Regions from separate parts of the Homo sapiens genome. Here all the other regions are linked to region 3. The links are contacts of gene promoters, found by promoter capture Hi-C in blood cells and fetal thymus (Javierre and others, 2016). All regions are on one chromosome and are shown on one strand. The core of a region is centred on a gene start or on the middle of the fragment in contact, and the rest is flanking DNA. Distances in the headings are between cores, read along the strand shown. Region 1 overlaps CHST12 (carbohydrate sulfotransferase 12). Region 2 overlaps CHST12 (carbohydrate sulfotransferase 12). Region 3 holds the start of TTYH3 (tweety family member 3).

Region 1 (4,275 bases), core at 1,246-3,745, 210 kb before region 3:
ACAACTCTGTCAGCCTAACCACAGTGTTTGCGTTTAAACCTAACCTAATAATTTTCAGTGCCATTTATGAGGGCATCTGACACAGCCGCCGTGGAAAAGCACCTCCACCGCTACAGTTTCCTGGCGGATGATGCTTCTAGGTGAAACTTTGCTCTGTGGGTTCCCTTGCTGGAGGCAGCAGCCCACGGTTGGTGTGCCGCAGGCGGGTTATACGTCTGTTCATCTGAGATGCCTCTGCGTGCTCTGCTTCAAATCACAGGGGGCTTTTTGTTGAAACACTGGGAGATTTGCATTTGGAAATCATGTCCTATTTCTTTTTAATGAAAAATTACTTTATGGCTTCAGTGTTGCCCATGATGTGTTTTGGAAGCAGGTGGGATCATGACCGCAGTGCTCAGCCCAGCGGTTCTATCGGACCCTTCCCTGAATGCTTCTCTCCTGCCCAGAAGGTAGCAAAAGTCACGTGGGCTTCAGGCCGGAGCTGTGTCAGTCACTGGGCCAGACATTCTTGTATGTCCAAGCTGTTGTTTCTGTTGCTGTTGTTGTTGTTTTGTTTTTTGGGATGTGGTCTCACCCTGTCACCCAGGCTGGAGTACAACGGCACAATCATAGCTTACTGCAGCCTTGACCTCCTGGGTTCAAGCCATTTTCCCACTTCAGCCTCCAGAGTAACTGGGACCACAGGTGTGTGCCATCATGCCCAGCTAATTTTAAAAATTATTTGTAGACATGAGGTCTCACTGTGTGGACCAGGCTGGTCTTGAACCCCTTGGCTCAAGCAATCCCCCTGCCTTGGCTTCCCAAATTGCTGGGATCACAGGCATGAACCACCATGTCTGGCTGTCCAAACCGCCTTTTAAAATTAAAACTTGGCTGGGCGTGGTGGCTCATGCCTGTATTCCCATCACTTTGGGAGGCCGAGGCAGGTAGATCACTTGAGCCCAGGAGTTCAAGACCATCCTGGTCAACATGGTGAAACCCCATCTCTACTAAAAATACAAAAATTAGCCAGGCGTGGTGGTGCACACCTGTAACCCAGCTACTCAGGAGGCTGAGGTGGGAGGATCACTTGAGTGGGGAGGTTGCAGTGAGCCAAGATCACGCCACTGCACTCAAGTCTGAATGATAGAGTGGAACCCTGTCTCCAAAAAAAAAAAAAAAAAAAAAATGGCTGGGCATAGTGGCTTACGCCTGTAATCCCAGCACTTTGAGAGGCCAAGGCAGGTGGATTCCCTGAGGTCAGGAGTCCGAGACCAGCCTGGCCAACATGGTGAAGCCCCGTCTCTACTAAAAATACAAAAATTAGCCAGGCATGGTGGTGGGAGCCTGTAATCCCAGCTACTTAGGAGGCTGAGGCAGGAGAATCGCTTGAACCCGGGAAGCAGAGGTTGCAGTGAGCTGAGATTGTGCAACTGCACTCAAGCCTAGGCAACAAGAGCAAAACTCCGTCTCAAAAAAAAAAAAAAAAAATTACCATTGTAACCATTTTTAAGCATGCAGTTTGGTGGTGTTAAGCACGTTCACATCACTCTGCAGCAATCACCACCCTCCAGCCCCAGAACTATGTTCATCTTGTAAAACTAAAGCTCTGTCCCCATTGAACACAAACTCCCATCCCCCTCCCCTGCCCCCACAACCACCATTCTACTTTCTGTCTCTAGGAATTTAACTGCCCTGGGAACCTCATACAAGTAGAATCTTGAAATATTTGTCTTTTTTTTTTTTTTTTTTTTTTTGAGATGGAGTCTCGCTCTGTTGCCCAGGCTGGAGTGCAGTGGCACGATCTCACCTCACTGTAAGCTCTGCCTCCCGGGTTCATGCCATTCTCCTGCCTCAGCCTCCAGAGTAGCTGAGACTACAGGCGCCCGTCAGCATGCCCGGCTAATTTTTTGTATTTTTAGTAGAGACGGGGTTTCACCGTGTTAGCCAGGATGGTCTTGATCTCCTGACCTCGTGATCTGCCCGCCTCGGCTTCCCAAAGTGCTGGGATTACAGGTGTGAGCCGCCACACCGGCCAAGTATTTGTCCTTTTGTTTCTGGCTTATTTCACTGAGCATAATGTCTTCAGGGTTCATCCATGTTGTAGCATGTGTCAGAATTTCCTTTCTTTTGAAGGCTGAGTAATATTCTACTACATGGGTTGACCACAGTTTGCTTGTCTGTTCATCTGTCGCGAACACTTGGGTTCCTTCCACCTTTTGGCTATTGTGAATGATGCTGACATCAGTGTGGACATGGGTGTGCAAGCATCTCTTCAAGACCCTGCTCTAAGTTGAGTGCAGTGGCTCATGCCTGTCATCCCAGCACTTTGGGGGGCCAAGGTGGAAGGATCACTTGAGGCCAGGAATTCAAGACCACCCTGACAACATAGCAAGATGCCATCTCTACAAAAAATTAGCTGGGCATGGTGGCAACCACCTATAGTCTCAGCTACTCAGGAGGCTGCTTGAGCCCAGGAGTTCAAGGCTGCAGTGAGGTTTGATGGCACCACTGCACCCCAGCCTGGACAACACAGTGAGACCCTGTCTCAGGAAAAGAACAACAACCTTGCTTTCAGTTATTTTGGGTGTATACACAGAAGTGGAATTGCTGTATCATATGGCAATTTTATTTTATTATTATTTTTTAAGACGGAGTCTCACTGTGTCACCAAGTCTGGAATACAGTGGTACAATCTCAGCTCACTGCAACCTCTGCCTCCTGGGTTCAAGCAATTCTGCCTCAGCCTCCTTGAGTAGCTGGGATTACAGGCGTGAGTCACTGCACCTGGCCCCTCATATGGTAATTTTATATGATAATTCTGTGTTAATTTTTTTTTTTGAGACAGAGTCTCACTCTGTTCCCCAGGCTGGAGTGCAGTGGTGCCATCACAGCTCACTGCAACCTCCATCTCCTGGGCTCAAGCGATCCTCTTGCCTCAGCCTCCTGAGTAGCTGGGACTGTAAGTGCACACCACCATGTCCTGCTAATTCTTTTTTTTTTTTTTTTTTTTTTTACATTTTTTTTGTAGAGAAGGGTCTTGGTATGTTGCCCAGGCTGGGATGCAGTGGCAACATCATAGCTCACTGCAGCCTCAAACTCTTGGGCTCAAGCAATCCTCTCACCTCAGCCTCCTAAGTAGCTGAGACTACAGGCACACACTACCATGCCTGGCTAGTTTTTTAGTTTGGTTTTTTTTTTTACTTTTTTTTTTTTTTTTGAGACGGAGTCTCGCTCTGTTGCCCAGGCTAGAGTGCGGTGACGCGATCTTGGCTCACTGCAACTTCCACCTGCCAGGTTCAAATGGTCCTTCCATCTCAGCCTCTCAAGAAACTGGGATTACAAGTGTACACCACCATGCCAGGCTAATTTTTTTATTTTTAGTAGAGACAGGGTTTTGCCATGTTGGCCAGGCTGTCCTCAAACTCCTGAGCTCAAGTGATCTGCCCACCTCAGCCTCCCAAAGTGCCAGGATTACAGGCATGAGCTACTGCGCCCAGCCTTTTTAAACATTTTTTATAGAGATAGGGTCTTGCTATGTTGCCCAGGCTGGTCTTAAACTCCTGGGCAGTTCTCCCGCCTCAGCCTCCCAAAGTGCTGGGATTACAGGCATGAGCCACCATAGCTGGCCCTAAAAGATATTATTAATACTTAGTTATAATCCTAAAATATTTTCCTTGTAATTAAACTGAAATCTTATTAAATTATCCATGAAAAGTCATAGGTTTTATAAAATGATGTAGTCACTGGCATTGGTTGTATATATGTAATGCTTCTTGGCTGAAAAATAAGCAGAAGTGCTTAGGTTGGCTCAGTAACGCCCTTATCTAGTTCTTAGGTACAGAATTCGTGGACGGCGGCAGCATCCCTGGCCTCTGGCGTCTGCCTATGTCGGCGATGTGACTGACTCCCCTGCAGCTTCACTCTCCTCGTTAGTCTTCATCTTAATTGGCAACTTCCCTCTCAAGTTGTTTGTCATGTTAACTTTTCCCCTTTGCTACTTTCTTTTTCTTTCTTTTTTTTTTTTGAGAGGGAGTTTCCCTCTTGTGGCCCAGGCTGGAGTGCAGTGGCGCCATCTCGGCTCACTGCAACCTCCGCCTCCCAGGTTCAAGCGATTCTCCTGCCTCAGCCTCCCGAGTAGCTGGGATTACAGGCATGTGCCACCATGCCCGGCTTATTTTGTATTTTTAGTAGAGACAGGGTTTCTCCGTTATTGGTCAGGCTGGTCTCGAACTCCTGACCTCAGGTGATCCACCCGCCTCGGCCTCCCAAGGTTCTGGGATTACAGGCGTGAGC
Region 2 (4,509 bases), core at 1,542-4,041, 190 kb before region 3:
CTCGCTTCAGCTGATTTGGGTTGGATTTCTAGCGTTTCACATACAGGATCTAGACTCGCACACAACTGCATTAATATGTTGGTGTTTGATAAACTAGGGTTGAAGGAGTTCCATCAGTGAAGAGAGAAGCCACGTGACCTGAGGATGCAGGGCACTGTTCACGTGGACATGAGCCGTTTCTTAGCATCATGAGATTTTAGAAACATGTTCTTACTCTGCCAGGACCCAGGGATAGGTGAGGCTCTCCTATTGGGATACCATTTCACCAGCAGAGAGATTAATTGGAGAATGTGTAATTTTTTCCCCTTTGGAAATAATTTGTTCTTTTTTTTTTTTGACAGAGTTTCTTTCTGTCATCCAGGCTGGAGTGCAGTGGTGTGATCATAGCTCACTGCAGCCTCGACCTCCTGGGCTCAAGTGGTCCTCCCACCTCAGCCTCCCAAGTAGCTGGGACTACAGGCATGCACCACCATGCCCGGCTAATTTTTACATTTTTGGTAGAGGCCGGGTACGGTGGCTCATGCCTGTAATCCCGGCACTTTGGGAGGCCGAGGTGGGTGGATCACGAGGTCAGGAGATCAAGACCATCCTGGATAACATGGTGAAACCCCGTCTCTACTAAAATACAAAAAAATTAGCCGGGCGTGGTGGTGGGCGCCTGTAGTCCCAGCTACTCGGGAGGCTGAGGCAGGAGAATGGCGTGAACCCGGGAGGCGGAGCTTGCAGTGAGCGGAGATTGGCGCCACTACACTCCAGCCTGGGCGACAGAGCGAGACTCCGTCTCAAAAAAAAATTTTTTTTTTTGGTAGATACGGGGTCTTGCTTTGTCACCCAGGCTGGTCTCAAACTCCTGAGCTCGAGTGCTCCTTCTGCCTCAGCCTCCCAAAGTGCTGGGATTACAGGCGTGGGCTGCTGTGCCCAGCAGGAATAATTTCTCAGTGCATCTCTGATGGGGAGGCTAATGAAGAAAGGACACCTGGTTTGAAGGCTTCTCTGTGTCTGTCCGTGGGCGCTACTGATCTGAGCCAAGCACCATTCCGCAGGCATGCCTGAAATGACTCCCATGGCTGTCATGGTGCCATCTGGAGAGCATTTGCTCACTGTAATGGTCCCGTCACACTTGTCTGATGAGGATCTGTTGGTTGACTTTGACAGTGATAAACGAACACAGCCTATCTGGGTGTTTTTTGCACTTATAGTTTGGGGGTTTGAAGTACTGGCTAGAAGCTGGCGGGGTGTGTGTGTGCAGGTGTGCGAGTGCATGTGCAAGTGTGCGTGCAAGTGTGAGTCTGCACTTGTGTGCAAGAGAATGTGTGTGTGTGTGTGTTTGGAGATTTGGACTTGAAAATTCTAGCTCAGGTCTTTGGGGTAGTGTTTGACCTGAACTCTGAAAGGCAGAGGGTCCCAGACTTTCCTGGGATGATGGGAACTGGGCACCCCAGATGAGGCTCGGTTGTGAGTAGGAGCGGGGTGGGCCACCGAAGAGAAGACAGAGTGGGCCTGTAGGGCCAGCCCGAGGTACCCACAGTGGAGGGTCTACAGGCTGATTTGGGAGGTGGTGGTTTATACCTGTAGTCACCTTCTATCTTAGTTAGGAATTCACCTTCACACTTCCAGAAACTGCCAAGAAGAATGCCGCCGCTCAGGTTTATCTGGTAGAATAAGCTGTTTGAACAAAGATCTGGAGGTTGCACAATCCTGTGTCATTCTGGATTTATCTTGGGGTCGGGAGTCAACGATACTTCTTGTGCTGTCGTTTCTCCGGCCGTGTGAAGTTACCACCTCGTGAGTGGTCATAAGTTAGCGTGTCTAAATGCACTTTGAAATCCTAGGATGAAAAAGCCAGGCCCTGTCTTTTTTCCTTGTCTAAGCACCATCCTTGCTTAGGAGAGACACGGCTGTGGCTCTCAGGCTGTGGGGCAATGTTCTGCTTATAATGTTTCAAGAGGTTCAAAGCGTGCAGGCCCCATGCTCCGTGAGAGCCTTGACCTGGGTCAGCAGGGGCGGCTGGGCTTGACTCGAGAATTCCCACAGGGCCCGAGGGAAGAGCAGAGCAAGAGGGAGGAGCGCGTGGAGCCCTATGTGGCCTGCGATATTGGGGTGGCGTCCAGGCCCGCCTAGATGGGGGAGGGAGACAACAGAGCTGCCACCTGCTCACCGCAGACCCAGGGGCCCAGGAGGAGCGGACTAGGACCGGCAGTGCCTTCCAGCCTAGGTCTCCTGCCCCTGGGCTGGAGTTCATCTTTTAGGCAAATTTGGAATAGGAACCTTAAAAATGCTTTCTTCACTCGTTTAAATAGTAATGATAAGAATATGGCTGCAGGGGGCAGCTTATGCCTGTAATCCCACCATTTTGGGAGCTCAAGGCAGGAGTATTGCTTGAGCCCAGAAGTTTGAGACCAGTCTGGGCAACATAGTGGAAACTTGTCTCTCCAAAAGCTAAAAGAAAAAGCCGTGCATGGTGGTATGCACCTGTAGTCCCAGCTACTTGGGAGGCTGAGGTGGGAGGATCGCTTGAGTCTGGGAGGTCGAGGCTGCTGTGAGCCATGATTGCACCACTGCATTCCAGCCTGGGTGACAGAGCAAGATCTTGTCTTAAAAAAAAAAAAAAAAAAAAAGGTGTTGTATTTTATCATTAGAAGGCCATCCTGTTTAGAAGAGTGGGTTTCTCATAAGAAAAAAAAGAAAAAGGTTGACCTTGTAAGTATATTTTCTTGGGTGAATTGTGGTGGTGGTAATGGTTTTAACTGGTGTTAATTTCAGTTCTTTTAAAAGTTGTGGTAAGATACATGCAACATAAAATGTGCCCTCTTCCCCATTTTTAAGTGAACAGTTCAGTGGCATTAAGCACATTCAGTTTGCCTGCCACCGTTACCACCATCCATCTCCAAAATTCTCTCCATTTACAAAACTGAAACTCTGTCCCTATTAAACACTAGCTCCCCATTCCCCACTGTGCCGCCCCCCCAAAGCCCCTGGCACCAACCATTCTACTTCCTGTCTCTGAGTTTGACTAGGGACCTCCTGTAAGTGGATTTGTACAATATTTGTCCTTTTGTGTCTGGCTTCTTCATGTAGTATAATGTCTTCAAGGTTCATTCATGTTGTAGTCAGGATCACCTTCCTTTTAAAGGTTGAACGATATCCCGTTGTATGGACAGACCACATTTTATCCATTCACCCAGGGATGGACACCTGGGTTGCTTCCATCTCTCGGCTCTTGTGAATAATGCTGCTGTGAACACGGGTGTGCAGATACCTGTTCAAGTCCCTGCTGTTTTCTTTTGAGACGGAGTCTCGCTCTGTCTCCCAGGCTGGAGTGCGGTGGCACCATCTCAGCTCACTGCAAGCTCCGCCTCCCAGGTTCAGGCCATTCTCCTGCCTCAGCCTCCCGAGTAGCTGGGACTACAGGTGCCCACCACCACGCCTGGCTAATTTTTTGTATTTTTAGTAGAGACGGAGTTTCACCATGTTAGCCAGGATGCTCTGGATCTCCTGACCTCGTGATCCACCCACCTCGGCCTCCCAAACTGCTGGGATTACAGGCATGAGACACCACGCCCCGCCGAGTCCCTGCTTTTAATTCTTTGGGGCAGGGATCCCCAACCCCCTGGTGATGGACCAATACTGGCCTGCGGCCCCTTAGGAACTGGACTGCACAGCAGGAGGTGAGCGGCAGGTGAGCGTGCATTCCCGCCGGAGCCCCGCCTCCCGTCAGATCAGCGGCGGCATTAGATTCTCATAGGAGCGGGAACCCTCCTGTGAACCCTGCATACCAGGGTTCTCCATGCAACAATCTAATGCCTGATGATCTGAAGTGGAACAGGTTTTTGTTTTTTTTTTCCAGACAGAGTCTTGCTCTTTCGCCTAGGCTGGAGTGCAGTGGCATGATCTCGGCTCACTGCAACCCCTGCTTCCTGGGTTCAAGTGGTTCTCCTGCCTCAGCCTCCCAAGTAGCTGGGATTACAGGTGCCCGCCACCATGGCCAGCTAATTTTTTTGTTTATTTGTTTATTTATTATTTTTTGAGGTGGAGTCTTGCTGTCACCCAGGCTGGAGTGCAGTGGTGCAATCTCAGCTCACTGCAACCTCTGCCTTCTGGGTTCAAGCCATTCTTGTGCCTCAGCTTCCCGAGTAGGTGGAATTATAGGCGTGTGCCACCATGCCCAGCTAATTTTTGTATTTTTAGTAGAGGCGGGATTTCACCATGTTGGCCAGGCTGGTCTCACTCTTGACCTCAAGTGATCTGCCCGCCTCGGCCTCCCAAAGTGTTGGGATTACAGGTGTGAGCCACCGTGCTCAGCCTGAAGTGAAACAGTTTCATCCCAAAAGCATATACCTCTGCCCCATCCATGGAAAAATTGCCTCTCATGAAACCAGTCCCTGGTGCCAAAAAGGTTGGGGACCGCGGCTCTGGAGTATATGCCTAGGAGTAGGAGTGTGGGGTCATATGGTAATTTATCTTTAATTTTTGGAGGAATTGAATTTCAATTCTTATTATTACCAAAAA
Region 3 (4,202 bases), core at 1,112-3,611:
TACAATTTTGCCAGGCTTCTGGAAACAGGGGAAGGAACTCCTGTACCCCCTGCCTGCATGTGTGTACCCTGGCAGGGCTGCCAGGCTGGTGTGGAGGGCACTGGAGTTGTGGTGGGGGGAAGCAGGAGGTCTGTTTGTGGCCATGGGAGCTGCTGCTAACAGCAGGAACCAGAAACGATCTCAGGCCATGAGGACAATTTCTGCAGCTGGCCAGGGACTGCCCTGTTCATCCCTGGAGTTATGCGACACAGAACTCTGAGGTCAGAGTCAGCCCAGGGCACGGGCCGTGCAGGCGATCCCCTGGCTGTGGAGATGAGGTCACAGGCTGGATGCTGGAGCAGTGTCAGGCTAGGAGTGGGCGTCCTGCCTAAGCCACCTGTTCACAGTGAGCAATCAGCTGGCGCCAAAGAAGAGGACTCACCTGGCCAGGTACCAGCCCACTCCAAGTAGGTAGCCTTGGTCTTAGGGGGTTGGGGGGGGCTTCATTCTGCCTGGAGCTCCCACCATCCTTGGCATTGGAGAGAGAGGAACCTGAGCCAGTATCCCCACCCCACCCCAAATTTCTGGCTCTTCGGCCTTTAGGGATGGAGAATGCGACCTCCCCCCTTCTGCCTGGCTGTTATTTCCCAGCTGGGTGGTGTCTCCAAGTTATCCAGCGGGTGGAAACCGCAGCTCAGCTAGTCCCTCTTGCCCGGTGCCCTATCACAGGAAAACAGGCGAGTCAGGGCAGTCAATGAGCCAAAGTCCAGGCCTCCTGGGAAGACACTGCCCGGAACCGTCCCTGCCTGCAAAGAGCTCTTCCTGCCAGGAACGGCCTGCCTGCCCACAGAGCTGGCCAAGTCGGGCACAGCAGATGGTGGAGCCCGGGTGTGGAAACCTGTTTCTCAGTACACAGGAGGTCCAGGAATAAGGCCCCAGGTGATGAAGCAGAGCCAGGATGCACCCACTGCCCTAGAGTGCGGAGGGAGGCGTGCACCTGGGCCCAAGCACGCACTATGTCCATCCTCCTGGCTCTGGCAGCTCCCATCTCCCCTTTAGCAAAGGAGGAGGCACAGGCATGGGGAGGCCCTGTTAGGAAATTTGGCTGTGTGGCTCCAAAGCCCATGATGGGCCCTCTCTGGCAGGTGCCTGAATTTTTAGGCCCCAGGACACCAGAACAGGGCACCGTCTTCATCTTAGGTCTTGACAAAAGACTCAACCTTCCCCAGAGGGAAGGCCGGATGGGGACTGAATCTACCTGCGGATCCACTTAACACTCGTACCTTTTTAAAAAAAATTTTTTTTATTTTTGAGATGGAGTCTCACTCTGTTGCCCAGGTTGGAGTGCAGTGGCGCAATCTCCACTCACCGCAACCTCCATCTCGCAGGTCCAAGCAATTCTCCTCCCTCAGCTTCCAGAGTAACTGGGATTACAGGCGCCCGCCACCACGCCTGGCTAATTTTTGTATTTTTAGTAGAGACGGGGTTTCACCATTTTGGCCAGGCTGGTCTCGAACTCCTGACCTCAGGTGATCCGCCTGCCTCGGCCTCCCAAAGTGCTGGGATTACAGGCATGAACCACCACCACGCCCTGCCAACACTCGTAGCTTTATCATCCCCTTTTACAGACAAGGACACCGATGCACAGAGTGGTTAAGTAACTTGCCCCAGATCACACAGCTCTAGGTGCCCCAGCCAGGCCCTGAATCCAGATCATGTCCATTGTACAGATAGGCCACTCGGTGCCTTGCTGGGCGCTGCGGGCTGTGGGCTGTTGTGTGTGCAATGGGGAGGCCAAGACCAGCCCAGCCCACCAGGCCGGACCCTCGAGTCAAATAAGAAACATGCAAAGATCCAAACGAAGAGCGAATTCATGGAATGAAGCGCAGCTGCATATGCAGCCAGGGTTCCAGCCCCCACGGCCACGTGGAAAGACTGGCTGGCCCGGGTCTTACAGCGCTGAGGGTCGGTCTTCCAGCGCCTTAGGGGCCAGGCGTCCCTCCAAGAAGGCGAGGAAGTAGGCGGAGCTTCTGCCGGCGGACTAATGACGGTACAGAGGCGGGGCCGAAGGGCGGGGACACGTGGAGGGGCGGGGCCATTGGGTAATGGGCGGGGATGCGAGTGGAGGGGCAAAACCATCAGGTAAAAGGACCAATAGAGGTTCAGGAGCGAGTGGGCGGGGCACGCTGTGGGGCGGGATCGGCGGGGGATAGACCAATGGTGGGTAAGAGGCGGGACAGAGGGCGGGGCGCGCGGGGGCTGGGCTGGCGGGAGGCGGGCCAATGGAGGCTCGGGGGCGGGGCCGGCGGGCGGACGGGCGGGGGTGCGGAGGGGGCGGCGGCGGCGGCGGCGAACAAAGAGGCGGCGGGCGCGGGCGGCCGAGCGGAGCCGAGCGCAGCCGAGCCGGGCCGAGCCGGGCCGGGCCGGGCCCAGGAGCGCGCGGATGATGCGGGCGGCCAGGCGGGGGTCGACGGGTCCCTGAAGCCCGCGCCCCGGGCCAGCAAGGGAGCCCCGCGCAGGCCGCGCGCATCCGGAGGCGGCCGGGCCCCGCCATGGCCGGGGTCAGCTACGCGGCGCCCTGGTGGGTGAGCCTCCTGCACCGGCTGCCCCACTTCGACCTGAGCTGGGAGGCCACTAGCAGCCAGTTCCGGCCCGAGGACACCGACTACCAGCAGGTGACATGGGCCTCTCGGGGTCGCGGGGTCAGGGACCCCAGGTCACGGCCCCCTCCTCTCCCAGGGTCACGGCCCCCATCCCCGAGGGCCTAAAGACCCCTCATCCCCCCCTCCAGGGTCACGGCCACCTCCTCCTCGCAGGTACCGGCCTCCTTCCTTCTCGAGGGTCCCTTCTGAGTCCTAGGACCCTTTCTTCCAGGGTCATGGCCTCCTCCTCAAAGGTCTAAATACCCTCCAACCCCCAGTGAGGGTCCACGGCCCCCCTCCCGATTCTGGCCTTCCCTTCTGGTGTCACTAAGGCCCCTGGGTTTCATGGAGCTGCCTCTCCCCACTCCGTGAGCCCCCTTGGCCAGTGGAGGGCCTCTCCACCATCACTGTTGGCGGCCTGGTGCTGTGTCCCAGCAGAGACCCCTCCCCAGATGACCCCCAGGCTCTGAGATCAGAGCGGGTGCCTGAGCACATTGGGTGCAGGCAGGCAGAGACTCCTCGCCCACTCACCCCCGACTGGGGAATCCCACTGCCAGGCTTCCAGTGGGTGAATGGCCTGGGCCGCCGCCAGCCCTCTGTGGCCGGTAATGACCCCCTGCTTGGCGGTCAGGCTGTGGGATGTACACAGGGTGCCGTGTGTGGCCGTGGGAGACCAGGCTGCCTGTAGCCCCCGGGGGAGGGAGGCCCGGCGGCCAGGAAGCACCGTGGGCCTCAGGCAGGGAGGCTGGAAGCGGCTGAGCCCAGGCAGACCTGGGGGGCGGCTGGGGGCCCTTTGCAGCCCTCTCCCAGGGGAGCCCTTAGCCTGGCATCATGCCAGGCCCCAGCACCACCCCCATCGCCAAGCTACTGTCATTTGAGTGCGGGGCAGGGGACCAAGCTGTGGGCATTTCCTTCCTGCCTAGAGATCCGGATTCCAGAAGCCCCGTGACCAGGGTCCCTGGTCACCCGGAGTTTCTCTCTGGACGGATCATGGCAGAGCCCCATGGTGGGGTGGGGATGGCTTTGCTTATCAAAATGGCTTGGGAATCCGGTATTCCGCGGGCAGCCTAGCACCTGGACTCTTCAGAACTGCGTTGTCTGTGGCCTCCCGCATCCAGAGGAGGGAGGCGGAAGTGGAGGAGCAGGGCACCTGGGAGCCCACTGCTCCCAGCCTCGCGCTCACTTGCACCCAGGCCCCCCAGCCGAGCCGATGACGTTTCCTAACAGATGAGGAAGGGGGCGAGGGATCGGCCCAGGCACGCCCAGACACAGCAGGGAGGAGGGAGGCGGAAGGATTGGTATAAAATCTCACGCCTGCGTTCTAGAAGCCCAGCCCTGGGGGACCGTTCAGTGTGGGGGCAATGCACATTCAGGAACTTCTGGAACTTATTCCATGCTGATGGCTTTGCCACTTGTCCCTGGAGGACTCTGTTGAAGCTGCAAGGAGGGTGTGCTTCACTTTGGAAAGTTCTCTGCCCTGAGGGTTTGGCCCATTTGTCAGTTCTTAAGCTCCGGGGCAGCCCTGGGGCGTGGGGGGCGGCTGTTTCCTGCTGCCCCTTGGGCTGCCACCTGCCCGAGCTG

What was found. Contacts are between HindIII fragments. The CHiCAGO score rates a contact against its expected background, and 5 or more counts as called.
Region 1: a fragment that was not itself captured here is called in contact with the fragment with the promoter of TTYH3 in region 3 in 1 of 17 cell types (neutrophils); the score reaches 8.7 in neutrophils.
Region 2: a contact is called between a fragment that was not itself captured here and the fragment with the promoter of TTYH3 in region 3, in 1 of 17 cell types (monocytes). The highest score is 5.9, in monocytes.

The regions. Positions count from the first base shown.
Region 1 is chr7:2,418,256-2,422,530 of GRCh38, forward strand. All of the region lies in intron 1 of CHST12 (carbohydrate sulfotransferase 12), which reads left to right. Among named protein-coding and RNA genes, the nearest start is that of CHST12, 17 kb to the left of the region's middle. The HindIII fragment of the contact is 7,524 bases long and covers 1-4,275 here.
Region 2 is chr7:2,439,096-2,443,604 of GRCh38, forward strand. It overlaps CHST12 (carbohydrate sulfotransferase 12), which reads left to right. Exons shown (of 2, transcript NM_018641.5): 2 at 1-4,509. Among named protein-coding and RNA genes, the nearest start is that of GRIFIN, 35 kb to the right of the region's middle. RefSeq lists an enhancer at 3,531-4,031. The HindIII fragment of the contact is 6,535 bases long and covers 1-4,509 here.
Region 3 is chr7:2,629,625-2,633,826 of GRCh38, forward strand. TTYH3 (tweety family member 3) reads left to right here and starts at 2,362. Exons shown (of 14, transcript NM_025250.3): 1 at 2,362-2,654. The coding sequence starts at 2,532. RefSeq lists enhancers at 1,787-2,518, 3,251-3,983, 3,763-3,872 and a silencer at 2,303-2,712. The HindIII fragment of the contact is 11,109 bases long and covers 1-4,202 here.